Linked DNA regions of Homo sapiens: all the other regions are linked to region 7. Evidence: promoter capture Hi-C in human tissues and cell types (Jung and others, 2019). All regions are on one chromosome and are shown on one strand. The core of a region is centred on a gene start or on the middle of the fragment in contact, and the rest is flanking DNA. Distances in the headings are between cores, read along the strand shown.

The links. The method cuts DNA at HindIII sites, captures the fragments that hold promoters and counts their contacts. A contact is called where the count stands out against the background at its distance.
Region 1: a contact is called between a fragment that was not itself captured here and the fragment with the promoter of MTHFSD in region 7, in 2 of the 25 tissues and cell types used here (lymphoblastoid cells and mesendoderm cells).
Region 2: a fragment that was not itself captured here is called in contact with the fragment with the promoter of MTHFSD in region 7 in 2 of the 25 tissues and cell types used here (IMR-90 fibroblasts and mesendoderm cells).
Region 3: a fragment that was not itself captured here is called in contact with the fragment with the promoter of MTHFSD in region 7 in 3 of the 25 tissues and cell types used here (IMR-90 fibroblasts, aorta and lymphoblastoid cells).
Region 4: a fragment that was not itself captured here is called in contact with the fragment with the promoter of MTHFSD in region 7 in 4 of the 25 tissues and cell types used here (H1 embryonic stem cells, IMR-90 fibroblasts, mesenchymal stem cells and 1 more).
Region 5: a fragment that was not itself captured here is called in contact with the fragment with the promoter of MTHFSD in region 7 in 2 of the 25 tissues and cell types used here (IMR-90 fibroblasts and lymphoblastoid cells).
Region 6: a fragment that was not itself captured here is called in contact with the fragment with the promoter of MTHFSD in region 7 in 5 of the 25 tissues and cell types used here (IMR-90 fibroblasts, dorsolateral prefrontal cortex, lymphoblastoid cells and 2 more).

What each region holds. Positions count from the first base shown.
Region 1 is chr16:86,048,816-86,052,686 of GRCh38, forward strand. LOC105371389 (a long non-coding RNA gene) reads right to left here and starts at 522. Exons shown (of 2, transcript XR_933854.3): 1 at 379-522. LOC105376778 (a long non-coding RNA gene) reads left to right here and starts at 640. Exons shown (of 2, transcript XR_933855.2): 1 at 640-810. RefSeq lists enhancers at 1-112, 2,203-2,837. The HindIII fragment of the contact is 4,718 bases long and covers 1-3,617 here.
Region 2 is chr16:86,992,196-86,995,819 of GRCh38, forward strand. No RefSeq gene overlaps it. Among named protein-coding and RNA genes, the nearest start is that of LINC02181, 64 kb to the right of the region's middle. The HindIII fragment of the contact is 6,483 bases long and covers 1-3,624 here.
Region 3 is chr16:87,043,501-87,047,098 of GRCh38, forward strand. No RefSeq gene overlaps it. Among named protein-coding and RNA genes, the nearest start is that of LINC02181, 12 kb to the right of the region's middle. The HindIII fragment of the contact is 6,740 bases long and covers 1-3,598 here.
Region 4 is chr16:86,892,346-86,896,183 of GRCh38, forward strand. No RefSeq gene overlaps it. Among named protein-coding and RNA genes, the nearest start is that of LINC02181, 160 kb to the right of the region's middle. RefSeq lists an enhancer at 3,006-3,788. The HindIII fragment of the contact is 7,684 bases long and covers 1-3,838 here.
Region 5 is chr16:86,973,613-86,977,427 of GRCh38, forward strand. No RefSeq gene overlaps it. Among named protein-coding and RNA genes, the nearest start is that of LINC02181, 82 kb to the right of the region's middle. The HindIII fragment of the contact is 4,609 bases long and covers 1-3,650 here.
Region 6 is chr16:86,072,210-86,076,346 of GRCh38, forward strand. No RefSeq gene overlaps it. Among named protein-coding and RNA genes, the nearest start is that of LINC01082, 120 kb to the right of the region's middle. RefSeq lists an enhancer at 2,167-2,935. The HindIII fragment of the contact is 3,693 bases long and covers 1-3,576 here.
Region 7 is chr16:86,552,592-86,556,720 of GRCh38, forward strand. It overlaps MTHFSD (methenyltetrahydrofolate synthetase domain containing), which reads right to left and starts at 2,644. Exons shown (of 8, transcript NM_001159377.2): 1 at 2,578-2,644; 2 at 2,054-2,160. The coding sequence starts at 2,593. It overlaps FLJ30679 (a long non-coding RNA gene), which reads left to right and starts at 2,729. Exons shown (of 1, transcript NR_026674.1): 1 at 2,729-4,129. RefSeq lists enhancers at 251-915, 916-1,578, 2,547-2,596, 2,637-2,926 and a silencer at 2,501-2,714. The HindIII fragment of the contact is 6,717 bases long and covers 1-4,129 here.

The DNA of each region.
Region 1 (3,871 bases), core at 9-2,508, 510 kb before region 7:
CATTTTAGAGATAGGGGAACTGAGGATCAGAAAGGCCAGGCTGCTTGTTTGGGGACCCACAGTGAGTTTTATGGCAGGATTTGGACCCGGTTCTGAGTGGCTGTAAAGTCTATGCTTGTAAATGCATTTTCCCTTTCTCCACACTAACAGAGTTGCCTCCTATGTGCCAGGCACCCTGCTGTGTGCTCAGACAGACAAAGCCCCGTGGTCAAGGAGCTCCCCTTGGAGTTGCCTGTGAGGCCTCCACACCCTCATCACTGACAACCTCTGGGGGGCGCCTGTCCTCACCACCTGTCACTGTCTCATCCAATTCTCCCCACCTGTCACTGCCTCATCCAATTCTCCCCACCTGTCACCGCCTCATCCGGTTCTCCCCACCTGGTGTGGTAGGGGTGGGGGTTATTACCCCATTTCGCAGATGGTGAGATGGAAGCACAGATGTTTCTTTTTCAATGTTGACCAGCCAATAAATGGCAGAGCTGGGGAGAGCCCAGGCCTTCATAGCCCATGGTAATGACCACTGAGTCCATGGCGATGACCCCTGGGTCCGTGGTGATGACACACCTGGGTCCATGGCGATGACCTCTGAGTCCATGGTGATGACACCTGGGCTTATATCAATGACCAGTAGGCTCACGGCAATGACTGCTGGGTGATGCTGCCCCAGGGACCCCATGGCCAAGTAGGCAGCGCTGTTGCCTCTCCTACCCCCCCAAGCCTGCAGTATGTGCCACAGGATGCCAGTGGGCCATCCTCCCCTTGGCCCAACACCTCCTCAGCTCTAGTAATGATGAAAGGATGGCATCAGTGGTGAGCACAGCTATACTCCATTCACGTATTCGTTGTTCACTCGACAAGTATTTACTGAGTACGAACGACCTGAGAGTCTCTGCAGGTTCCTAATCGAGGCATTTGCTTTCACTTCTGCCACTTACCAGCTGTGTGACCTTGGATAGGACTTGGAACCTCTCTGTGCCTTGGTCTCCTCTTCTGTGTAATGGGCATAATGAACACAGGTGGTATCCAAGGCTGCCGGGGCTCAGCTGGGGAGAGTGGTGCTGAGAAAGCCTCCTGTGCGCCAGGCCCAGTGGTGGGGAGCCACTGCCCCTGAGCTGCTGGGGGGAGGTAAAGCTTAGTGGTGAGGAACACGAGGTTCTGTCCCTGCGAGCACCTGAATCTCATGGCCTTCACTGCCTTGTCTGTGAAATGAGGCAATGACAGGATGACCACAGAGTGATTGTGAGGGTGAAATGAGCCCCTGAGAGCTCGGCTGGGAGCCTGTGCGGGAACTGCCCTATAATGTCACCTAGCAAGAGGCCCAGTATTAGACATTAGCTATCCTTCGATATTAGCTATCATTAGACATTAGCTATAATAGCAGTTAGACTCGGGGAGAAGGCAGGAGCAGACATTCCATCGACAGATGTTTGTGAGAAGGTCAGTCTCTGAAGCAACACACGGGGGTGTCCTCCACGTCTAGAAACATCCTAGCCGGTGGGGGGCTTCCCCAGTCCTGCCGAACAAATCCATGCCCATGGTTCACACTTCTCACCTGCCTTCAGTGTGGGCAAATTTCTCAAAACCCTCAGGCCCTGCTGGGTTGCAGAGGATCAGACAAGACGTGCTGAGAGTTTATTCTTTGGAAAGAGGTGCTGACTGTTCCTGTAGCTTCACAAGAGAAGCTGATCTTTCTAAGGTGTGTTCATGGGACACAGAACGTGTCTAAAGGGCAAAGAGCAGGTTAGAATCGTGCCTCTTCTTTGAGCATCTGTTCCATGCCAGGCACAGAGCTAGGCACCTGGAGGGGATGCAGCACCGATGTCCCAGACCCTCTCAGAGGTTGCGCAGCAATCGCTTCCTGCAACACGCCCAGGGGGTACTGGTAAGCATCAGATGAGTGACTCCTGTAAGTCACGTAACACAACCCCTGATCTGAATAAGTGCTTTGTAACTGTAAGTGTTTGTAACTGGGGCTGTGGGAGCTGTGATCATGTGCTTAGGCCCTCCTGGCAGTGCTTCTGCCTGCTCAAGTCCCCTGACCTCTCAGACCGTGTTATTTATCTGTGCGTGGAGATGGTAATGGTTGTTAGGACCAAAGGAGACAGCACACGACGCCAGCACATGGCAAGCGCTCCACAAACAGTGGCTGATGTTCCTTTATTCCCTAGGGGGATTTGCGCCACGTGGAAAGGTGCGGACTGTCACTCATCAGAATCCTAGCTCCAGAGGAGAGAGAGTTGGTGGATTTGCAATACATGGGGAGGGACCAGAAACCAAGGGGCCAGATTTCGAAGGGGCCAACCTGGGGCCTGCTGAGAGCCCGAAGAGCATGGGTTGAAATCCCGACTGGGGCCTTTCCAGCTCTGTGATGCTAAGCAGACTACCTAGCCCCTCTGTGCCTCAGTTTGTCTCTTGTGCAATGGCAGCCGTGATAGAGTTGACCTCCTGGGTGGTTGTGAGGACTCAGGGAGGTGGCACTGGCAATGCTCTCAGCCCAAGGCCAAGGCTCCCCAATGCCGAGCTCTCCCCATAATGATTTCCTCTGCTGAGCAGAGGCAGATGACATCAGCCTCTTTCCTTTCAAGGAAACTCATCTGCAACTGGTTCCAATAAAGCCAGGATGGCTGGGCCAGGGAGGACAGGAAGTGTGGAAGACCCAGGGCTCCTCCCGTGGGCCCAGGAGCCAGGTCACACCAGGGTCCTCGAGCCCCTCCTGAGGACTTGGGGGCCAGAGGGCTTCCTGGCCAGAGGTGGTCAGCAGCGCGCTGGGGAGAGGGTCCCTGGGGGAAGGGCACACGCGCTGCCCTGTCTCCCTCTTCCTCACACCCCCTTCCTCCTCCTGGGCTGGCTGTTGACATAGTGAGGAATTGCTCCCAAGGCAGTGTGGAAACACAAAAGGACGTGGCGCAGCAGCAATAAATCACGATTTATGTCCTCGGAGCTGCCGGAGGATGCTGGGGCTTGTCATGATTTCTGGAGATTCACTGAGCCAGACGACAAGCCGAGCTCCGATGCCCCCATGGTCAAGTGCAGATGGGACCCAAGGTCCCAGCCTGGGGAGGTGCCCTTTCCTTCAGGGCTGGCCGAGGATGCCCAGGGAGGTCAACATGGGGAATGGCTGGATGCATCCAGGGGGCTCTGACCTCTGAACTACCCCTGACACCCGGCCGTGGCAGCGTTTTGTCAAATCAGGATTGGAACACCTGCTTGTGTTGAGGGTGTGCAGGTTCCCGAGGCCGACTTTGAATTGGTGGTGGAAGCTGAGAACTCTGGACAGCCAGAGCCTTTTGGTCCCAGCAATGCCTGGGCGGGGCCGCCTTGTTGGGGTCCTCATGCACCAGGAGCTCAGGTCCTCTCCTAATAGGGCAGCTCTCGTTGCCCAGGGGCTGCTCCCAGCCTAGGATGCTGCAGAACTCTCTGGAGAGACCCGCAGAAAGGCCTCCGCGGCTCTGCCCTGCCTTTGGCGCACTCCAGGCTCCTGTGCTCCAAAACAAAGGGACCAGTGAGGCCGGGACCTCCGCCCCTGTGTGGCCCACAGGTGGATGTGAGGCTTCTGTGATGTGCCTGGCACTGTTCTGGGAGTCGGGGGTGTGACAGGAGCGAAACTGAGCCACTTCCTGGGGTGTGCAGGCCATGACCATCCAGCCTGGAACATGCTGGGGGAGGGGGCTCAGTGTGTGAGGGCAGCAAAGGGACTTCTATACCTGTCAGCTCCTCCAAAGCGCACGCCAGCCCTGGGGAATGAGGAAACTGAGGCTTCCAGTGGGCACATGACTCGGCCAGCCTCATGTTGGGTAAACATAAAGTAAACCTATGCATAAATGTAGGGTAAATGCAAATAAAATATCGAGTAAGTATAAATATAGAGTAA
Region 2 (3,624 bases), core at 574-3,073, 440 kb after region 7:
ACCACATATATCATTGCAAGACAACATTTGTTCAAATGCCCAATGAATGGTTCAGGCTGCAAGTGCTCTGAATTCCAAAGACAGGAGGGGTCACCTTGCATTTATCCACCACTGAGTAAATGTGTTGAGGGCTCCTTCTAGTGCAGGGCATGAAGGTTTTGCCAGAGTGGGGTGTGCACGCGACGAAAAGGGAAATGGGCATGCTAGACATTGCCAATGAGCACAAATGCAAGGTTCCCTCTGCCCTGGCCACAAGGAAGACTGTGCTTTTCAGCTCTCCCGTCACTAGAGAGAGTCTCCCATGAGTGGCTCGGGGTGGGCTGTCAGCACGGTAACGTACCTGGGCCATCCCCAGACTCAGCCATAAAAGAGCGTGCAGGACTGTCTTACTCTCAAGTTTGTGTGCTTTCTCCCCTCTCTGGCAAGTGTGAAAGCGTCATGTTGGGAAGACAGAGCAATGAGAGGGAATCAGCCTGGACCACTGAGTCACCATGCCGAGGACAGTTGCCCTGGTGGGCTGCCTGAAACTGCAGTGGGCTTGGCATGAGTGAGAGTTGGATTTCTGTTGTGTTACCTACTGCGATTTGGGGGCTGTTTGTTAGGGCGGCATAGCATAGCAGAGCCTCACTGCTACAGAAAGACTTGGCTAAGTGGTGAATCACACATGACTCTTCCCTTGCAGAGCTCATGGTTTAGTAGGGCAGATGAGATCTATGTGTAAAAAACTGTAACAGAGGCTGGGTGGTGGGCCTCAGGGCTTGCCCGATTTCAGAGCCAGCCCTGGAGAAGTTGCACCAATCGAGCAAAGACTTGAAAGAGAGCATGACCCAGGAGAGTGAATGTCATTCCAGCTGGAAGGAACAGCATGAGCAAAGATCCAGAGGCCAGAAATTAAGGGGCGTGATGAGTTTGTCAGAGTTGAGGATGTGGGAAGAGAAATGGGAGAAAATAAGGCTAGAAAACACCACTGGCCCCAAGATCATGAAGGGCCTCACATTTCAGATAAAGGAGTTTGGATGCATTTCTACATACTAGCGTTTCTCCAGGAAACCTGAGTCTCGTAATACACACCTAGAAGGTAAGAGCTTCATCATGAAGACATTTAGAAAAAGCTACACCCCCCACTTCCTTCTTAATATGATGTTAACAGAGTCAAGCCTCTGAGAAGTCCTGCAGTAAGGAATCCAACTAGATTTGCTTAATGCAGCATTTCTCAGCCCTGTTGGAGCAGGAGCTCTTTTTTGACATACTTGGGGAAACATTGATGAGCAGAAGGATTTATAAGCGGGAAGATGGCAGGAGACAGGCCTGTGAGGCGGGGAGATTCATCAGCAGCAAGGAGACAGACAGGACAGCCGCTGCCAGCTCACATCCACCCCCTACCCCCCACCACCCACCTCAGCTGGCCTCGCCGCAGCCAGGCGGACCAGTCCATGCAGGCTCCAGCCCCTCCGTGCTGGCTCATTGTGCCACAAGCACAGGCCGCTGGTCTCCAGTCCTTCCCAGAACTTCTCCAGTGCCGTGAGGCTGAGGAAGCCCCTCGGGCCTTCCACATCACCGCAGGGAAGTGGGGAGTCAGCGCTTGACCCATGAAGGGACGAGATCCATAGATAAGTACTCCTTTTGGGCAGACAATTCTAGGAGGTGTTCTGTGCACGTCTTAGGAGGTCACGGTGGGACTGCACCCCGTGCCCCAGCAGCGACGTCAATCGCACAGCCTGCTCCTCCTGACTTGCCACTGAACCCATGCGCCCTGGACAACCTCCCAAGGAACCCACCACTGCTCCACGGGCAAGTTGCCGGCTGCCTTTGGGGAGCCCAAGATAAGAGCAGGGGTGGATTAGAAGGATGGTGGGGGAACGAAAGCCACGTGTGGGACAAAAGACGATCATGAAAGCTCGTCTAGACCCAGGAAGGAAACCTAAGTGTCCAGATGAACACCGCTCCACAGAGAAGTGGCAGCAGAGCAGCGGACGGCAGAAACCACGCCTTGCCGAGCTCCCACGGGGCCAGAATCTACCCCACAATTCGGCTTCATCTTAATCTACTAAGCCTCCCTGCAAAGACTTTTATCACTTCTTTGATTTTACAAATTTGGAAACTAAGGCTCAGAGAAGTGTGGTTTTACCTCTGAAACACGCAACTTCCCACCCACCCAAAATGAGTGATGGAGAAAGAACCAACAGGATTGGGCAACTGTTGGATGTTGAGCAAGAGGGAGAGAAGAGTTGACTCGGAGGTTGGTATACTCCAAGAAGGCTTCCTGGAGGAAGTGGACAATTCAGAACACAGGACCCTTTATCCAAATCAAATACAAATAGGGAACACTATTATTAAGTATTATCTCCTATCTCTGTAAAAAGCCTTGTGGCCAGGGGGTGTTCTGGAAATGCTAGTTAATTTCTGGTTAAATATTGGATCCCTGGGAGTTCTTTAAAGGCTCGTTTACCCAGCCTGGAAGTTAAGCCTGTAACTTAAACGCATTGTCAAAACCAGGAAACATTTACCCCCCAGTCCAGACCACAGCTGAGTCATTGGCCAGGAGAAGCTCAGTCTGTGTGCAGAGAGCTGGAGATTATCTCATCTTCCAGGCACTTGTAGACATCCAATCTGGACAAATCATGTCCCACTCCCAAGAATCTGCAAGAAATGGCCTGATGTGTCTCCCACAGAACAGCCGATGATGATAACTCATTGTCACTCGAGCCAGTGGGCAGATAATGACCCCGCTGACAGGGTCCAGCCTGCTGCTCCGCCCCAGCAGACATGCTCCAACAATGGCTTCATCATCCTCCCCACCGGGACTGTGTAGATGAGGGAGGTGCCTCCCGCGGTGCAGGCTGTGAGCTCTAAGCAGTCACGCTGGACGCTGGACCAGTGCCCTGGGCTGCTCCTCCCTGCAGCCCCACGAGCCCAGGTAGGGATCACCAGAGGTCGTTTCACTCCCAAGTGGAGTGATAAGTCAGTCCTTCTACAGGAAGATTTCTCACAAAGTGCCCTACTGCACTGTCAAAGGGTAAAAAGGAGAAAAAAAATAATAAAGCCAGAGGCAAGGGCTCCAGGCAAGAGCAAGATGACAATATTTGTACAGCGGGGTTTGGAGAGGAGCCCCCGTGAGAGCCCAGCGTCTGAGAGAGCCAGTCCTTTGAACTGTCCCACCCTTTGTTATGACAAGAGACTTGATAAGCCCACCCAGCACAGAGACCCTTAGAATCCAGGCATATGGACTCCATTAATCTGCCCTTGCACCTTTTAAGTACTTTGCAGCTCCTGCCGCCCACAAAATCCAAGCAGAGTGAGAGTCGCAGGGTTAATTTTCTTAAATGGATTTTAGTCAGGCAAGCCCCGGATTTCTTTGGAGGGCAGAAGTTGACAGCTCACTGCTGGCCCCAATCTGTCCTTGGGGTAATGACGTCTGCCGCCCCTCAGCATGGGGACCAGATGCGGTCAAGGTGGTGGAAGCAGCAAGCAATGGGAAAGCCCAGCCAGCTTAGGCAACCCAGCACGGGGGAAGGCAAGGCGGTGGCTGGGGGACCGCGCCCTGGGTTGCATCCCCGCGTACCACTGGCCGGCTGTGTGCAAGGTCAGACACACACCTTAGATCCTGTGCCCGTTTCCCCTTCT
Region 3 (3,598 bases), core at 201-2,700, 490 kb after region 7:
AGCATCCAAGTGCACTGCGTTACAGCCAGGATTCAGCTGCACCCACAGGCACCACGGGAGCAGCGGCTCCAACAAAGTGCTGGTGGAATTTGTTTTTTTCACATAAGGGTCTGAGCTGTGCTCTCTGAAATCACCAGGATTTTCCTCTCTTGTTAATGGTTGTGTCCACCCACACAATAGCGATTCGGTACCGTGTCTCCACCCAGCTACTGCAAGAAGGCTTCTCTTACTTCAAGACACACGCAGCCTGTTACACACACATCAGCCGTCAAAAAGCCTGGGAAAAGCATTCCGTGTTCTGTAGCTTGCCTAGTTAAACACTCTCACTGTGGAAGGGAGGGGGAAACGAGGGTGGAAAACAATCAGCCGTGTCAGCCTCCCTCTCCACGTGCCGGCTACAGAGGGCTTCCTTCTGTTCCTCTGAAGGGGAACAAGCTCTTCACAGAGGCTGTTCCCTCTGCCAGGACACTTCCTCTCCTATCTCCTAGCTAACTCCTTCACTGCCCTCAGACCCCAGCTCAGTCACTCGGCCACCCCACCTGGCCACCTCAGAATTTTTTTATAATCCCTTCCTGTGATCGTTTGACTGACGGCTGCCTCCCTCGAAAGATGTTATGTGTCCCAAGGTGGAATGTCAGCTCGTTTCCTGTTAGGTGCCAGCACCTACTCCAGGGCTGACCCCTCTGGCTGAAGAGCTGAGTAAATGTATCACCCTCCTGAGTCTCCAGGTCCCCTGCACGTGGACACGACTCAGAGCCGTCACAAGAAAGCAAATGAAGATCTTAGGCCAGGTGCAGTGGCTCATGCTTGTAATCCTAGCACTTTGGGAGGCCAAGGCAGGTGGATCTCTAGGGCCCAGGAGTTCGAGACCAGCCTGGGCAACCCCGTTTCTACTAAAAATACAAAAAATCAGCTGGGCGTGGTGGTGTGTGCCTATAATCCCAGCTACTCGGGAGGCTGAGACAGGAGAATCACTTGAATCCAGGAGATAGAGGTTGAAGTGAGCAGAGATCATACCACTGCACCCCAGCCTGGGTGACAGAGAGAGAGAGAGAGAGACTGTCTCAAAAAACAAACAAACAAAGCAAATGAAGATCGTACCAGGGGCTGACACCAGAGATGCCTGACTAAGTGGCAGGCACCATCCCCTGTTTTAATTTGCTTAATCCGCCCAGCAGCCTTTTTCTTTCTAAGGCAGGTTTTGCTCTTATTCCCATTTCACAGAAGAGGAGACGGGGCAGAACTGAGTCAGCTGAGGAGGCAGGCTGGGACTGAACGCAGCTCTGGAGCTGGCACACTTGGGGTTCCGGCAGTTCCCTTTCTGCACTTTCTGGCCAGCGAATGGGGAAACCTGGGCCGTCTCCACGGGCCACAGACCTGCTGAGGGAGCTCACAGTGCAGAGGGTCCAGGGTCCCTCCTGTTCTTGTCCCCAAGCCTCTTCTGGGAGCCCCTCCCAGTTGGACCCGAACTGTGGCTCACGTAAGGAAGCCATGTGTTCCTGCCCGCCCAACCCCCCAGAAGAAGTGCTTTCTGCACAAGGTCCCCGAGGCCCCACAAGCCCAGAGATCCATGATTCCATGCAGTCAGTGCCTCCGGGCTCAGGGCCTCTGGAATATGGCCGTGTGGCCGGTCCCCTGCAATGGCTCCTGGAGACCCACAGCCAGGTGACACATGGCTGTCCGCTCCTGAACCACAAGCCAGAACACAGGCAGGTGTGTGCTCTGAGAGGTGAGGATGGGGCCTAGGCCTGGAGCAGCCTGCAGAGGATGTCAAGGAAATGCTAAAACATGCCCCAGAGAAAAATCTGCCTGAAGTAACTCAGTCAACTTCTGTATTATCCTTTTTTTTTTTTTTTTTTTTTTTTTTTACCAAAAAGCCCCCACCCAAAACTACGTTGTTATAACGAAAGGGATATGCATTCATTCATGCAGGAAGAGGAGGAGAATATACCAAGTACAAAAGAACAGGCTTATCCACATCCTGCCGCCAGCACTCACAGGCAGGGAACCTCCCGGTTCTCGGTGTCAAGCCTCCCTCCTGGAGGAGAAACCCACGCTGGTGTCATCACAGGTTCAGTGCGCCTCCCTCTACGACCTCCACAGGAACAGAAGGGGCTGCTTTCGCCATCCCTCCCACAGGGACGGGGTGTGCATGGTGCGGGGAGGTGGTGCCGAATACCTTGCACAAACGACACCTGTTCCTCGACGCTAAAGTTTCCTGAGGCCTCCCCTGTGTCGGATGCCGCGGGTCCCCAGGGAACACGGCGTGGACTCAGGCTTGGCTTCTGTCTCCCATCTCCTACCCATCTCCCCAGCTTCTCATCATCCAGGGTACGCACAGGAGACAGTTGTCTTGTTTGTAACAAACATTTTTCCAGCACTCTCCACATGCTAGGCCTTGCTCTAAGCACTTTACAAAGGCTAACTTGGTGAATCACAACCTTACAAGGTACGTACTCTTATCACATTTTACAGATGAGGAAATTGAAGCCCAGAGAGACCAAGCCACTTGCCCAAGGTCACACAGCAAATGAGTAGCAAAGACTGGATTCAAACCCAGCCATTTGGGCTCCAGAGCCCGTGCTAATGGTCTCAGAAACACAAGCTGCCCCACCATGAGTGTGAGGGACACAGTGAACCCACTTTGCCAGGGGAAATGGAGACGGGAGCTGCCGCATGGGACGGAAGGCACTGCTAACGTACTTTATTTGTTTTTTAAGGCCAGCCAGACGAATGAGGTACAAGGCAGTAGCTATGCACCTGGCTATACCTGAGAATCGCCTGGGGCGCCCTGAAAACTGCTGCCCAGAATTTGATTCCCTTAGTGTGGGCTGGAGCCCAGGAGTCAGTGCCTGTTAAGGCTTCCCATGCCACTGCACTGTGAAGCCAGGTTTGAGAACACCTGCTGTGTCCACAGATTCCAGCTACATGACCCTGGAATACTTGCTTGACCTCCCCAGGCCTCAGTTTCCCCATCTGTGAAATGGGAATGCTACCGCTTTGGTGTGAGAAGCTGCGTGTCACACACACACCTCGCTGGGCCCTGGTACAGCCCGTGAACCACGTCGTTGTCAGCCCTTACTCTAAAGCACACGTGGCTCTCTGCATGCAGGCAGAGCTGGGTGAACTGATTTTCCCGGGCTGCCATAACCACGTCGTGAGACCAGGCAGCTCAAACCCCAGATATGCACTTTCTTATCATTCTCAAGGCTGAACATCTAGGATCAGGTGCCAGCAGGGCTGGTTCCTCCCGAGGCTTCCCTCCCTGGCTTGTAGGCAGCCATCTTCTCCCTGTGTTCTCATATGGTCATCCCTCTGTATGTGTCTGTGTCCTCATCCCCTGTTCTATGGGGACACCAGTCATTGGATTAGGGCCCAATGACTCACTTTAAGTTAAGCACCTCCTTAAAGACCCTATCTCCAAACATGGTGACATTCTGAGGGCCCGGGGCTAGAGCTTCCACACAGGAATTTATCAGGAACAAAATTCAGCCTATAATGAGTAAACAGAGACAGTACCTGTTGAGACGTGCGTCCATGGGTGGACTGCTGAGAACGCGGATTCTCACCCTCAGCGTATTCCCTCAGCCAAGCACAG
Region 4 (3,838 bases), core at 278-2,777, 340 kb after region 7:
AGAAACATTTATTTGGAGAGTAAGCCAAAGAGTTAGTTAAGAAACCAGCTGCTTTACACGTATGCAATCATTCATGTATTTATTCAAAATGGATGAACATCACACCAGCTGATTGCTCAGCACAGAGCCTGACCACATCTAAACTTCGGAAGTTTCAGCTCTGACTGTGGGTAGGTAGGTTGTAGCAAAGCATGGTTGGGGTGGGGCTTGTCCTAGCCAAGACCCTCCATGACCCGCATGTGCACAACCTTCCTTGTCTTTGGGACTGATACTCTCATTTCAGGAAGCTGTCAGTCTCCGACTTCTTGAGAAAGATCAGCGTGGCTGATAAGCCCTCCCTGGATGAGTGACAGAGCCACTTCTCGGCATTATCATGTTATCACCCATGCCTCCTGTGATTGCACAAATCCTCACAACCTCCCAGCTGCTCATGCTCATGGGTGTCATCTTTCTTCGCAACACCCCTCTCTCTGGCAGTGGGAGCATCTATTTATAGACTTCCATGGATTTTGAGCGAAAGGATCATATTTTCTGGGCTCTGCCACTGGAGAGATGTACTCTCATCAAACTTTTTCTCTGTTACTGTTCTCTGAGGCCCACAGAAGTGAGGGGCATGCCCAGAGCCACCTGGTGAGTTAAGAGGGGGCCCCGCCCAGGCACCAGCCTCCTGTCCCCCTCCAGGGCTCCCTCCCACCATGACATCAGGGCTCACACACTCATAGCCCTGGGTCAGGGGGCTGGGAGGGGGACATTGTGGATAACATGCCAAGTGGGAATTGGGGCTCAATGTTGCCAAGTTTATGAATTTGTAAAAGATGAAAATATTTTACCTAATACATAATTCCCCCATTTTTAAAAACACCAGGTTTCCAAAAATACAAAACCTTAGTTGAATCCAATCAAACAAACTCACATAGACGTGAAACTGCAAAATGCAAGTCCATACACTCTTCCAAAATGCCAATGAAGTAAAGACAAAGAAAGATGGAGGAATGTTCCAGATTAAAGAAGACAAAGGAGATAGCCAAATGCAAGGTGTGCTTCCAGGTTGAAGCCTGGATGGGAAGGCAAAAGTTGCCCCAAAGCACAGCATCGGGACAAATGGTGATGTTTGAATAGGAAGACCAGCTAAGAGCACCCTGGTGCTGTGGCTATGTAGGAGAACGTCCTTGTCCTCAGGAGAACACAGATGTGTTCACAGCCGAGGGACACACCCTCCACAGGTTCCGTCAAAGAGTTCACCAAAAATAAACAAACAACGACAATGACGATGCTGATGGTGACAGAGAAGGAGCAAAGAGCAAGTGCAGTAAATGTCAGCCACAGGTGAGCCCAGCCACAGGAGTAATGCCAGCCGCAGGTGAGCCCAGCCGCAGGTGAGCCCAGCTGCAGGGGAGGTCAGCAACAGGAGTAATGCCAGCCACAGGTGAGCCCAGCCGCAGGTGAGCCCAGCTGCAGGGGAGTTCAGCGACAGGAGTAATGCCAGCGACAGGTGAGATCAGCCAAAGGAATATAGCAGGCCATTGTAATATTTGACCATTTTTCTACAAGTTCACATTTTTGAAAATAAAAAATTTAATAAAAGCAAATAAAACAGGGAAAAATACAGCCAGGGGAGCCATGCCAAGCCTCCCTGCCCATCTGCCCCTCTCATGGGCTGCCCCCAGGATGGAGGCTGCCCCTGTAACACAGCGCCCATCGGTGAAAGGGTTTCAGGTGATTCACCGAGCAGTCCAATCTCATTCATAGGCACGGGTACCAAGACTACTTCGAGCTCCCGACTGCCAGGGCATGCAGAGAAGAACAAATCAGACGCAGCTCCTGTCCTCGTGGGACTCACAGTCTAGACGCATTCAGATCAGAGCACAAGCAAACTCCGCCCTGCGCAAAGGCACCGACTGCGCATGTGCTGAAGGGAACAGCCGGCAGCAGCAGCAGCCAGGGCAAGAGGCACAGGGGAGCAAAGCCAGGACAGGGAAGCCCACCCTGATGGGCTCCAAGAACTCAGGACAACGGTTCCAGGCAGCAGCCACCACCCCGCCACACGATGAGGACCAGAGGCCCGCGTGCCAGGCACCATGAGGTACAGCTAGAGGGTGCAGGGTGAGGTCCGGGAGCTACGTGGTGCCGGCCTGGAAGGTCACACTACAGGTATGGATCTTATTCTGATGGAGTAGGGCCTGCGTCCACCCCCGACCCTCTCCCTCTGTGCTGTCCAAAGCCTGCAGCTGATGATGAGATCAAGAGCAGAGCCCTCTGACGTCGTGCTTGCTGCCTGTCCAACACAGCTCTAAGCACGCAACGTCTCTGAGCCAATTCAGTCCCCACATTAGCCCAGTCAGGAAGATGTGACTATTATCCCCATTTCACAGATGGAAAAACTGAGACAATGTGAAATCAATGTGAAAAGGGCCCTTGTGGTAAACAGCTCTGTACCGGGTTGAATTGTGTCACCCGCATAGTTATGCTCAAGTCCTAACCCTGGGCACATGTGAGGGAGACCTTATCTGGCAGCAGTGTCTTTGCAGATATAATTGGGTCAAGATGTGCTCATATGGGGTGAGAGTGGACCTAATCCAACGGGACTGGTGCCTTCATAGGAAGAGGGAAATTTGGACACAGACACACACACAGTGAAGACGGCAGAGGCCGCAGTAATGCACCTCGGAGTCAAGGAATCCCAAGAAGAGCCAGGGACACTGGAAGCTGGAAGAGGCAGGAAGCGTCCTGCCCTGGAGCCCTCAGAGGGAGCACAGCCCTGCCCGCATCTCGATGGCAGACTCCCGATTCTGCTGCTGTAAGCCCCACCGTTTGCGGTCATTCGTTATGTGGTCATTTGTTAGTGGCCCCGGACGTGAATATCAGCTCTAGAAAGGGTTCTCAGATGTGCATAACAGGGGCCAGTCCCACCCGCTACAAGAAGCTGGTGGCATGGGGGATCTTCTACAGGTTGTTGTTGGCATCGATTAGGGAACAACTGTGCCCCTTGTCAGCCACCCCAGCCCCAAAACCGTATCAGAATGGAGGTCCTGTAGACCCCACAGGAAAGAAAAATGAAAGTCAAGCGGTCACTACTTCTTTCCCTTCCTTTTTCCCTTGGGGCATCATTGACTACATTATAAGCTGGACCACACTGGAATTCTCCCATATTCAGGCTGGAGCTGTTTTGATGGACAGCTGTCTGCAGAAGGGCAGATACTTCCAGGGGCTGTGCCTGCAGGACAGGACAGGGCAGCCACCATGGCCTCCCTGGGACCCCAAGTCAGATACCTGATCAAATTAGCACATGCAGCTGTTCAAATCGTGGTCCTGAAACCCGATGACTGGTTCTGCGAGGGGCCAGGGACAACATATAGAAGAGAACCAGCTTTCTAATGAAAACATTTGCGGGAGAAACAAAGGAGACTTCCTCTCAGAGCCCGCCCTGTCTGCAGACCTTCCCTGGGAAGAGGGAGAGAAGAGGGAGGAAACAGGGAGGTCAGGACGGCGGGATGGGCACGGTGGGAGCCCCAGACCCTCCCTCACTGCACAGTGCCTGTCCCTAGCTGGCGGACTCCAGCCCCTGCCTGCCCTGGCATTTCAGAATATCTGATTCCTGACCGGGGGGGGCCATCTCAGTAAACAAACATTTAGGCTTACTGTGAGCTGTTCGGCATGCATTTTCCTCACAGTGAAATAAGCCAATCCTGCAGGATTTGGAATTTTGCAAGTTTTCATTTGGGAGTAAACAAGCCCCTTTGATTTCTCTCTCAAGGTACGCCGGGAATAGATATTTTGGTCTCACATCCAAGCAGGGAGGTCGTCTGTTTTTTGTATAACAGTAGTGGCTGTTTAGAGA
Region 5 (3,815 bases), core at 96-2,595, 420 kb after region 7:
ATGACTTGACTCTAAATTTTTTAGAATGGGGATGGGACACTTCTCCGACAGAGAAGCAGCAGAAGGGTGGAGAACCAGGCCTGATCCCAAACAGGCAGGTGCCTCTAGGTGTTTGGAGAGAATCCTACAGATTCACTTCAGGGCTACAGGAAACTAAGTGAAGCCATCAGCAACTGGGAAGACCATCATACCACCCAGCATGATAGGGTCCCAGCCTATCAGCATTCTAGGCACAAGCAGGCTGGACTTCACGTGTGAGCCCAAAGCTTCCTCCTGCTCTTACAGTCAGGGGTTTAAGGACAGGTTGGTTGTCTTGGAAACCCAGCCTGCCATCCTCACTTCAGAGCAGCATCAGCACAGACACTTAAAAAGCTACAGCAGCGAATAGCTTTCTGGAAGGGTTCCTAAGGTGGCTACACGTTCCCATCCCATTTAGAAGCAAAGCCTAATTTCCCTCCCCTTGAGTGTGGGTTGGCCAGAGAGACTTGCTTGGCCAGCAGGAGGCTGCAGGCTCTGAGGCTAGTCCTAAGGCTTGAGGCTTCCCCACAGGCCTCACTAAACACTTATTAAATCCCTTGGCTGCCATTAACAAGTCCAGCTGGCAGCTGGAGAGACATTGAGACTATGTGGAGGCGGAGGCCAGCTGAGGCCAGGACTCCCGACTTGTGAGAGATACTGCCCCAGACTCTCCAACCCAGCCCAGCCATCAGCTTGACATCACTGAGTGATCCCAGTTGACCCCACACAGAGCTGAAGAGTCAGCCAGCTGAGCCCAGCCCCAACTGCTGACAGAGCTTCTGGTGCAGCCCAGACAAAGGATACAGAAAGTCAACTTGGTACAGGTTTGGCTCCTTTGATGAGTGTTTTCCTAGCTGCACTTTGGGAGAAAAGAAGGCAGAGCACCCCCATGTGCGGGCACACCCACAGAGCAGTGTCTGCAAAACTGCTTTGGCACCGCACACAAGCTAAGAACGTTTTTCACAGATCTAAATTATTGCAATAAAATCAAAACAGGAATTTTATTTCATGACGTGTGTAGAGTACATGAAATTTAAATTTCAGCATCCAGAATACATTTTTGTCTGCACACAGCCAGGCTCGCTTGTTGTCTGTGGCTGCTTAAAACAGCAGAATTGAATAGTCCCAACAGAGACCCTATGACTCCACAGCTGAAAATATTTGCTATTGGGCTGTTTACAGAGAAAGGGTGCTGACCCCTGCTCTGGAGACAAGTCATTTTGCTGGCGATAAGGCAGGGAGTGGTTGTTCTAAACACAGTGAAATTGGTAGATTGTCAAGATGCTTCAAATGTACCCAATTAGATGCATACATTTTTAAAATTCGTCTATAAGATCTGTCCTTTAGATTTATTATAATTGTAAACAACTCCTTTTTAATTTTTTTTGTTTTTAACAGATGTATTGAGATATAATTAAACAGCATAAAATGTACTCATTTGAAGCATACAATTCAATGAATGTTAGTATACTTACAGAGTTGCACAGCCAGTGCCACGGTCTAGTTTTAGAACATTTCCATCACAATAAAATAAACTTCATGCCCGTTAGCAGTCACACTGCCCACCCCACTCTCAGCCCTGGGCAACCACTGATCTTCACTTCCTTTGAGAGTACAATTATGCATTTCTGACACATCTTAAAGAACCTTGTGTCCTAAGTGGGCTTTCCAATTCTCAGCAAGTGATGCTTGGCACCTCTATTCCCACCAATGTCCTTCGCGTATCTGGTTTATATACACTCAGAACACCATTTCCTAAACTGTGTTCCATGACCCACCAACCCCATAGAGCAGAGATTGCTAGTTTTCCTCTAAAGTCTGTTTCCCCTGCTGTGGTCAGTGTTAGAGCACTTGACTTTAGCTGGGCACATGACTGTCCAGAAAAAACTACATCCCCCAGCATCCTTTGCAGCTGGGTGTGTCATGTGATTGGATTCTGGCCAATGGGAAGTGATGGGTCCAACTCCTGGGAAATATCCTTAAAAGGCAAGGGCTGTGGGGTGTGAATGGACGGGAGGCCAAGAAAGCTGGCTTGGTCCCACCACCCTTAGCCCTTTCCTGCTGGCAGGAGCACAAATGTGGTGATGATGAGTCATCATCATCACCCACATCAACAAGGCTAACACCGGGGAGATGCAGGAGCCTAGGTCTGTGAGTCACCAGGTAGAGAAGACCCCATCAGCCCTGGACCACTGGCATCCAGATGCTTCTGTGAGAAAGAGAGAACTGTCTGTCTGGTTCAAGCCACTGTTAACCTGAGTCTTTGTCAAGATGCCAGACTTGTATCCTAACTAATACACTCCACAAACAGAATGGAAAACAGAATCCCCTGCTTGAATTAGTAAATGCTGCCTGTGATATCCGCCACATGTCAATGTGGATTAGTTTATTAAAGGTTCTGAAAAGCTCTGCAGCAAAGAAAGCCGTTAAAGTCCATGTGAGCCCACAGTCCCCAAATGTCCATGGCTTTTTTATTTTTTCTTCTCACCTCCTCACAACCCATACAAAACACTTTGGTAACTTCCAATCTGAAATGATAGAGATATTGCACATAAGCAAAAAAGAGAGGGAGAGAATAATCTTTGGACTGATTTTTCATTCAGGGCAAGAGACTGATCTGCTCTGATCCCTGGGGGATCACATGCCCAGTGTCCTACAGGGAATGGTGGGTTGCAGTCACATGCCCCACCCCAGAATAATAGGGTTGGCAAGAAATACAGTGTTCATCTCCAGCTCTTACAGGAACAATCTTCCCAAGTACATACAAAGAAAAGGGATGACAAATGTTTTCTTGCTTCCCACAGTTCAGGAACTTTTCCTTAATTATAAGCAAAGTTTTCTTCATGTGGGGATTTGACTAGACTATTAGAAGGTGTCCCTGCATTCAGCTTTGCAGTGTGTGGTTTATCTGCAGTTATCTCCTTGCATTAAGTTGCCCAGGGTCACACAGCTACTAAGTTGCTCAGCCTAGATTTGATCACGGTTGTGCTAAAAGTATTTTTTTTTTCTCCTACAAAAGGACTGTGTCCTCAGAGACTGACCCCCTTCGTGAGAGGAAGATGTGACTTTAAGACACAGATCAAGGCTGTCAGAGCAGGAGTGACCCGGGCCTCACCTTTAACTGGGGCCAAAGTGTCTGTCCCAGGGTAGCGAGGTGGTGGAAAGTTCACTGTCTGCATCTGGAATCAGACTTCCTGTGCTCAAACCCAACTCCTCAACTTCTGAGAGTGGACTTGGGCAAATCATTTCACCCGTCTGAGCCTCAGGCTCCTCGTTTGTAAAAACCCAGTAATAATCTGAATCGCATCTCAGGGATGCCGAGAACATTGAAGGCAACACGTTCTAGTAAAGCAGGGCATCCGTGTGCTCTGTGGCCTGGCACCTCCACCCCTACCTGCACCCCCACTGACCTGAAGGTGGGTGTCCACCGAAACAGGTGTCAGAATGCCTAGACAGCATCGTGTATTGGCACCCAGACTGGAAACCACCCCACGCCCATCCCTGGGGCACCCAGACCGGAAACCACCCCGCGCCCATCCCCAGGACATGAAGGGGCCAACTGTGTGCAGCTGTACAATAAGAGACCCCACAGTGGGAACGAATGAGATGCTGCTACACACAGCAATGCAGAGGACGCTTGCAGCAGTGCGAGTAGGCACGGCCCAGCCCGAGCACCAGCTGTGAGAGCCTCCCACAGACTGCTTGAGGGCAGAGCTCACCTTGGCCCTGGTGTTAGAAGTTAGAGGATGGTCAGCTGGGATGCGGACATGGTCAGCCCAGAATGGTGGGGGTCGGTC
Region 6 (4,137 bases), core at 480-2,979, 480 kb before region 7:
CACTGTGGTCCCATCCTCAAGGAGTCCCTCAATTCACAAAAGCCAGAGCATCACCCGGAGATGGAGTGATTCTCTCCAATATTTACTGGGACCTAACTCTGATTTAAATGTCCACGGGGGCTGTTGAGATGGCCCCTGACCATCTCTCTCCCCGCTTCCCCTCTGTCCCTCTGTCCCAGACATGTTGGCCCTCTCTTACACTCCTTTCAACCAGTCAAAAACACCCCATCCTCCAAGCGTTTGCACCGGCTGTTTCCTCTGCCAGGAGCACTCTTCCCCCAGACCGCCAGGTGACTCCCGCTCTCCCTGCATTCAGATCTTGGCTCAGAGTTGCCTGCCTGCCCCCCTGCCCCCACCACACAGCATCAGCCATCACCCCGACCACTCCGTACCTGCCTCAGAGATTTATTTTTCGCAGCATTTACAACCACCTGGCTTTTTTGTTAATTGCTTTGTTAATTTGCTGATCGTCTGTGGCCCCAACTAGAACAGGCAGCCTCCACGGGGCGGGGTTTACTCCGTCCAGGCCACAGCTGCATACCCCGTGCCTAGAACAGGGCTCAGCAGACAGCAGTGGCCCAATAAAGGCGCGATTATAGTTTAAAAGCAGTTCTGGGTTCTGGGTAGCTGTTAGTTTTTCAGAAAATACAAATCCAGCTGCTATAAAAAGCACAAATCCTATCACGCTGGATCTGAACTGGATCTGAAATAATATTGGGGATCGCCAAGGGGCTCAGATATTTCTTTAAGTCGCCCGTGAGCAAGAACCATCAACTTGGCCACATCCTCGTTTGTCCAGCAGAGGGCAGCTGATTCCCAGCCGCTTGGAATTGCTCTGCCCAGAAGGGCTCACTTTTTTTTTCCTCTTTGAAATTCTGAAATTGATGGGAGATTCAAAAAAAAAAAAAAAAAAAAAAAATCCCACAGTCCGTGTGAGTGGGGGAAAAAATCACTTGATTTGATGCACAGGCAATTGGGCAATTGTTTCCTTCTAGGTTTCAAAAAACCTTCTCTCTTTCCAGAATTTTGAAGGACTTGCGGGGGGCGTGGGTTAGATTTTTGATGAGCTCAGGAATGGACCTCGGTTTCTACAGGTGTTTGAAGGTCTGATGGATCAGGTGCAGCCCAGCAATGCCTGCAGGTGTCATGGTCACGGAATCTGTGGGAGCAGACCTGCCCTGGAGACACCTGCAGTGAGCCTGGGAGTCACCCCGCTTGCGGAGGGCGGGGAAGGGGGGCACGCAGGAAGCCTGTGCTGTGGGTCTGGTCTGGTCCTAATTAGCTGTGAGACCTTGGGCAAATCACTTAACCTCTCTGGTCCGTTTACTCTTCCGTTAAATGGGATGCCATATTAACTCCTCTTGAAGTTCCTTTTAGCACAAAAGTCCAGAGTCAAAGGAGAGGGGAAGGCTCCTAGCCTGGGTGCCTCGGGCAGTACAAGCCTCTGAAAGCTTAATTATGTCGGATATCGTGGACCTAGGCGGATCTGCAGTTCACCTTTATCTCTGGGTGTGGAGCGGAACTGAGGCTGATTCTTGGCGCTACCACTAACTGGACATGTGATCTGAGGTCAGTTTGTGTCTCTGAGCCTCAGTTTACCCAGCTACAGGCTGAGGACATAGTCCACCTTTGCAGAGGTGTGAGTTTTCAATGTGATAACAGACAAGGGTGGACTCTCTCCTCTCACTCGAGAGCCCCCCTCCCACCCTGGCTGCCCCTGCTTGCCCAGGACTGTCCAGGGTTCCCTGACATGCGGCCCCACAGGTCTGGGTGTGGTCCTAGGGGCTGATGTCTCTCCTCTTCCCCACTTATCAGAATGCCCCCAGCCTGGCCTCTTCCACCTGAGTCCTGTTCTCTGCCTTAATCCAGTGAGTTCATTTCTCCTCTGACAGCCCCTTGAAAAGGTCAGTGGGGTTCCAGGGAGAGAGTTTGGGGAATTATCTCGGCGTCCACCCTGTGTCTGTAGGTCCCTCCTGGGGTACAGTGGATCTGCTAGTGCTTATGTGAGTGAGTGAGTGTGTATGAGTGTATGAGTGTGCAAGTGTGTGTAGGTGTGTATAAGTGTGTGCAAGGATGAGTGTGTATAAGTGTGCAAGCATGTGCGAGTGTGTGTATATGAGTATGCAAGTGTGAGCGAGTGTGTGTGCGAGTGAGTCTGCGAGTGTGTGAGTGAGTGTGAGTGGGATGAGGGGCAGACAGTGGAGAAAAACACAAATCTTTTCTTTTACTGGAGTGAAATTAACATAACATACAATTAACCATTTAAAGCGTGCAACCCAGTCAACACTCTTTTATCAAAGAGAATTTACAATAGCAGGAAAGCACTGAGAGGCCACCATCGGCCAGGCCCCTGCCAGAAGCTTCGCCACACAGTGTCATTTCGTCCTTACTACCTGACTCCAGGAGGAAGGGCGTCAGTGGGTGAGGAATCTAATGCTCAGAGAGGCTGAGCAACTTTCCCAAGAACACCCATCCAGGACGTGGCGGAGCAAGAATCAAGCCTGGGGTGCTGGAGGTGACTGGGGACACCTGCCTGGCTATGGTTCTGACCCGACTCAGGGGACTTGGGAAGGGTGGTGGGCAGGCATGGGCGGGGACGGTGGGCAGGGCAGCAGTAGCCCCAGTGAAGTCACTTGACCTCCTCATCCCTTCATTTCCTGCTCTGCCAGAGAGGAAATGTTTATACAGCGGCCCCACACAGACGCTCCACAGGCCTGGGGTTGCAGTCATTAGCTGAACAATGAGGGCCCGGCCTGTCCCTGGCCCCAGAGATGGCCTGGGGTCAGGCAGCCGGGCCTGGCTCCTCCTCCACGAATTTGCCTTGTGATCCCACCCTGGGCCTGTTTCTCCATCTGGGAGAGGCAGAGGCTGAGGGTGCTGGCCTTTGGGACTCCTCTGAGGCCCCCGGCTGGGTGATCCGTCTGGTGGTGACATGTGGGGAGGAGAGTGGTCACGAAAGGGGGATATGTCAGCAGAGAACTCTCCCCCAGATCCTTATCTCGCACGGTTTAATCATGCGGGTTTCTGATTCAGCTCAACATTTCAACAGCCGCCTAAGAAGTCTCTTCCGAGTGGCTGGCTTGGTCTTCCATTAGTTGGTGCACTGATGAATGAACCAAGCAAAGGTTTATCCTGCACCTATGGCCAGCTGGCCGTGGGCACCTGTGTGCATGTGCGGAGCTGTCCTTAGTGGGTGGCTGTCTGGCCAGGAGCTGTGTTTCCCAGGTGTCTTTGCATCTGGGTGGGAACAGGCCACTGGTTCTTGCTGAGAGAATGGGTGAGAAGAAGGTGGTTGCTGCTGCTCACCAAGGAAGTGTGTTGTATTCACCACAACTCTCTGTCTTTTCCCCTCTCCTGTCTGAAGACTCTGACATCCCCTGGACAGCAAGGCCCCATCTGGAAGAAGCCCAGGCTCTTGAGTCACCATGTGGCAAGGCTAATGTCTGAGAGGGACGTCCACATTGGAAGGGTCCACGCATGAGACATAAACTTGTGACAGGACATTGAGATTTGGGAGAAACAGAATAGAGGAAAATGATGGGATGTGACAGAGACCCAGTGCTGCCCCTGGCTGGCGCCCCAGAGCCCATCTACCAGAGAGCACCTTCCTCCAGAAGACGGGAGGAAATTTAAAACTAATCTTATAGCTTCTGTCCACAGAGAACTCAACCACACACCCACACACAGTCACAAAACAAGAACAACAGAGCACTTAGGGCCAAACCCTTTACATACATTATCTCATTCAATCCTCACAGTAATCCTACAACGTCAGTGCTATGCAGCATTCCCATGTTACGGATGAGGAAGCTGAAGCCCAGAGAGGTTAAGTAACTTGCCCAAGGGCACACAGCCAGCGAGTGGTGGAGCCTGGAGTCGCCCCATGGTCTGTGAGATGCTGAGAACATGGATAAACCTCAGCGTGCACAGTGGGTACACTTGCCGTGTGTCGTCTTGGTGTAGCAGTTGGCATTACCTGAATGTATACAGCTACGTGGTGCCAGCCCTGGAAATGCAGCTGCAGATGACACAGAGCCAGTCCCTGCCCTTGGTGGGGATGGGAGAAGGGGGACACATTCAGTATTTAGGCTGTAGGATCATCAAGATTTTGATTGGTGGGGTAGGTCCATGTTCACC
Region 7 (4,129 bases), core at 1,394-3,893:
ACCTGGAAGCCCCCACCTCTCTCCTGTTTGATTCGTTTTTTAAAGATTTCTACATGATTCTCTACATCCTTCATCTTTACCTCTGTTAAGATACATTTCTCTCTCTGGGGTCAGAAGCATTAAAACAAAACACAGTAACAACAAAAAACCATCAAAAGATCAGTTTTTCAAAGGGACAGGACAGTCTTGGAACCACCTCAGCTGAGGACCAGGGAAGGTGGAGCTTGTTGTGGAGAAGCCAGGCTTGGGGAGAGGCAGTCCTGACAAAATGGGGTGAAGCAAGCCAACAGCTAAGTCCTTCAGGGCAGAGAGCATTTTTGAAAAGCGCTTTCTTTTGCTCTTGGAAAATAGGCATGTCAAAGATGATGAACTGCTGCATTGCCTCTTCCGAGTAACCTTTTTTTTTTCTGTCAACACTGTTAGGAACAGCCATCTTTGATTGTCTTACATTTTGATCAGCTGGGAAACTGAGGCCCAGCATCCTTAGGCTGGCAAGGCATTCATTTCTTTCCAAAGGCCTAGAGCCTGAACTTCCAGTTCAGTACCCCTTCATTCCCTAACGCTCTTAGCAGGGTCAATTTTGTGAAAAGCCATTACGACAATAACATGCTTCCGGCCAGGATAAATATTTTACTTTGTATCAAACAGAAAACAGCAACTAGCACCACCTTGAAAGGTGACAGCGTGCTGGCAGCCCTCGGTCCCTCTCGGCGCCTCCTCGGCCTTGGCGCCTACTCTGGCCGTGCTTGAGGAGCCCTTCATCCCGCAGCTGCACTGTGGGAGCCCCTTTCTGGACTGGCCCAGGCCGGCTCCCTCAGCTTGCTGGGCGGTGTGGAGGGAGAGGCGCGGGCGGGAACTGCTGCTGTGCATGGTGCTTGTGGGCCAGCGCGAGTTCCATGTAGGCGTGGGGAGCCCCGCACTCACAGCGGCTGGCCCTGGGCAGTGAGGGGCTTAGCACCTGGGCCACCAGCTGCTGTGCTCTATTTCTCGCCGGGCCTTAGCTGCCTCCCCAAGACCTGCAGCCTGCCATGCCTGAGCCTCCCCACCCCCACCGGCGGGCTCCTGTGCAGCTAGAGCCTCCCCGAGGAGCGACGCTCCTGCTCCACGGTGCCTGGTGCCATCCACTGCCCAACGGCTGAGGAGTGCGGGTGCACTGCACGGGACTGGCAGGCAGCTCCACCTGCAGCCCCAGTGCGGGATCTGCTGGGTGAAGTCAGCTGGGCTCCTGAGGCTGGTGGGGACTTGGAGAATCTTTATGTCTAGCTAAGGGATTGTAAACACACCAATCAGCACCCTGTGTCTAGCTCAGAGTTTGTGAATGCACCAATGGGCACTCTGTATGTAGCTAATCTAGTGGGGAGGTGGAGAACTTTTGTGTCTAGCTCAGGGATTGTAAACGCACCAATCAGCATCCTGTCAAAACGGACCAATCGGCTCTCTGTAAAATGGACCAATCAGCAGGATGTGGGTGGGGCCAGATAAGAGATTAAAAGCAGGCTGCCTGAACCAGCAGCAACAACCCTCTCCAATCCCCTTCCACATTGTGGAAGGTTTGTTCTTTGCAATAAATCTTGCTGCTGCTCATTCTTTGAGTCCACCCTGCCTTTGTGAGCTGCAACACTCTCTGCTAAGGTCTGCAGCTTCACTCCTGAAGCCAGCAAAGACCGTGAACCCACCAGAAGGAAGAAACTCTGAACACATCCAAACATCAGAAGGAACAAACTCCAGACACGCTGCCTTTAAAAACTGTAACACTCACTGCGAGGCTTCATTCTTGAAGTCAGTGAGACCAAGAACCCACCAATTCTGGACACAACCTCACCTAGAGACAACCAAACCACCCTGCACAGAGACGCAAGAGGCCCCAGGTGAAGAGTAAATGACGTCTCTAAATGCTAAGGACGCCCTGGCCAAATGGCTTTGATTTCACACCACTGCTCACTGCTCGCCACATTCTCATCCACCATGACGCAGTAAGAGAATTTTATTACTAGTGTTATTCATTTAAGAATATTTTGTTTTCCTTTTCTGGACTCCAGAAATATGTCAGTACCTTAAAGTTGGGTATCCTGTGATGAACAGGTCGGGGAAAGTCAGCTAAATTTTGTGATTCCATGTAGCCCCAAATTTGTTCACGTATGTCCTGTTTGGAGACACCTACTGCAACAAAAGATTCCCACTTAATAACATACAAAGGAATTCCAGAGCCCATGCTGAAACCGCTTAACAGTAGTTAAGCGACCCCCGCGTGTAGGTCAAACCGGCTTCCGATCCTGTTCCTGAGCCTCAGTTTCCCCGACCTCAAGGGGCCCACGGGCTCCCCCACGTGCACGGCAGGTGTCCCTCCCGCCTCGTCTTCTCGTTATCTTTATTTTTCCTGACATCTTTCTCGGGATTCCGGGCGAGAGAGCCGCTGGTTCGACCCGAACCCAGCACAGACCCCCTCTGACCTCCTCGGCCGCTTCCGGTGATTCTGCCCCATCCTCTGCCAGCCCCGGTGGCCCCGCCTCGACCCTCACCGGTCCCGGCTGTCCCTCCCCATTCCCAGCCGCCCCGGAGCCCCGCCAGGCCCCCCACCTGCCCTCGGCTCCATGGTGATGCAGTCGCTGTGCGACGCTTCCCGGCGCAGGTTCTGGCGCGTAGTGACGTCACCCGCTCCGCGCCTGCGCGATGGTAGGAGGGGCGGAGGCTGAGCGGGCGAGGCCCAGGCGCGCATGCTCGGGCGGGTAAAATCCGCGCCGGGGACAGTCAGGGATGCTCCCAGGCCCTTCGCTCTTGCTTTCAGCTAGTCATTGTCGAGCGCCGCCCGTGACAGGCGTTTTGCCAAGCCCTGGAGTTACTGAAGTGAACAAGTCCCTGGTCTCTCGGGACCCATTGCCGGTTGAAACACATCCCGCCTCCTCTTCCAGTCCTAGAGGCCGCCTCCTCCGGAAAGCCGGCCTTGATTGCTCCTCATGTAGGACGCGGTTCCCTCCTCTGAGATCCTGCAGACTCTCAGGTGCTCACACGTGGGTGTGCAGCGGATTCAGCCGGCAGCTCTTTAAAGCGGCAGGCAGATGGAAATTCGAGGCCAGCCCAGCCCCGGCGACTGCGCTGCGGACGGCCAGAGGCCATCCTTTGAGAAACACCCGTGGATTCTTACCCTGACCTCTGCATACCCTGAGAAAGAACGAACGTGGCAGCCTGCGTCTGCTTGTCTATGTCTTTCATGTTTGCTAACCTAAGGGTCGAGAAGCGGCTCGAGGAGACCAGGCTGCACAGACCGTCACGTCCATTCCCTCTCTGGCCCCAGCCCCGCGGGAAGAAAACGAGGGCGTTCAGCCTGGCAGTTCATTCACTTATTAGGAAGAAGACATCCCACACCCCCACCCAGCACACACACAGATGTCAGGGACCAGCCACTAGGAACCACTCCCTGAGCGAATGAAGGCATCCCCGTAGCCACGTGCCTGGTACATCACAAGCACTCAAAACGTGGCTGCCACCTTTCGAAATTGCATGCCCAAAACTTTATGAGATCCTCACAACACACTTGGGAAACAGACAAAAGAGTTTGAATGCCCGCCTACTTAACAGATACAGAAAATGGTGTTCCGTGTACAAGCGACTTACTCATGTCTGCTGGTAACTCATAATGTGCCGTTTGACCTCCTTAGGACATAATTAATAATGGTAATTAACAGTGCTACGATATGCCAGGCATTGAGCTTAGCGCCTTAAAAGTCATAGCTAACTATGTTTCACAGCAAACCCTCAGAGGCAAATGTGACCCGCCTCCTACGCAGGAGGCAACAGAGGCTCAGACATGTTAAAGAAGCTTGGCCTGAGTCTCCCAGCAGAGAAAGGGCAGAGCGTGTAGCCCTGACAACGTGCTTAATTGCAACTCCTGTGGGTCCCATCACAACTCTCTCTTCCTATGTGGTGTCCGCAACATTAATACATAGAGACACCGAGGAGCCTCAGTTCTGCTTGTGGGCGGGCCTGTCTTTCACCAGGCTGGCAAAAGCAGTGCAAACATCATTTTGGAGGTGATAAAATAAAATCTCTCACAGAGGTTGGATGTCCTTTCCGCCTTTCATGGAAGCACAGTAGATCTGCAGAGTGTTTTATGCAAGTAGACTTGGTGCCA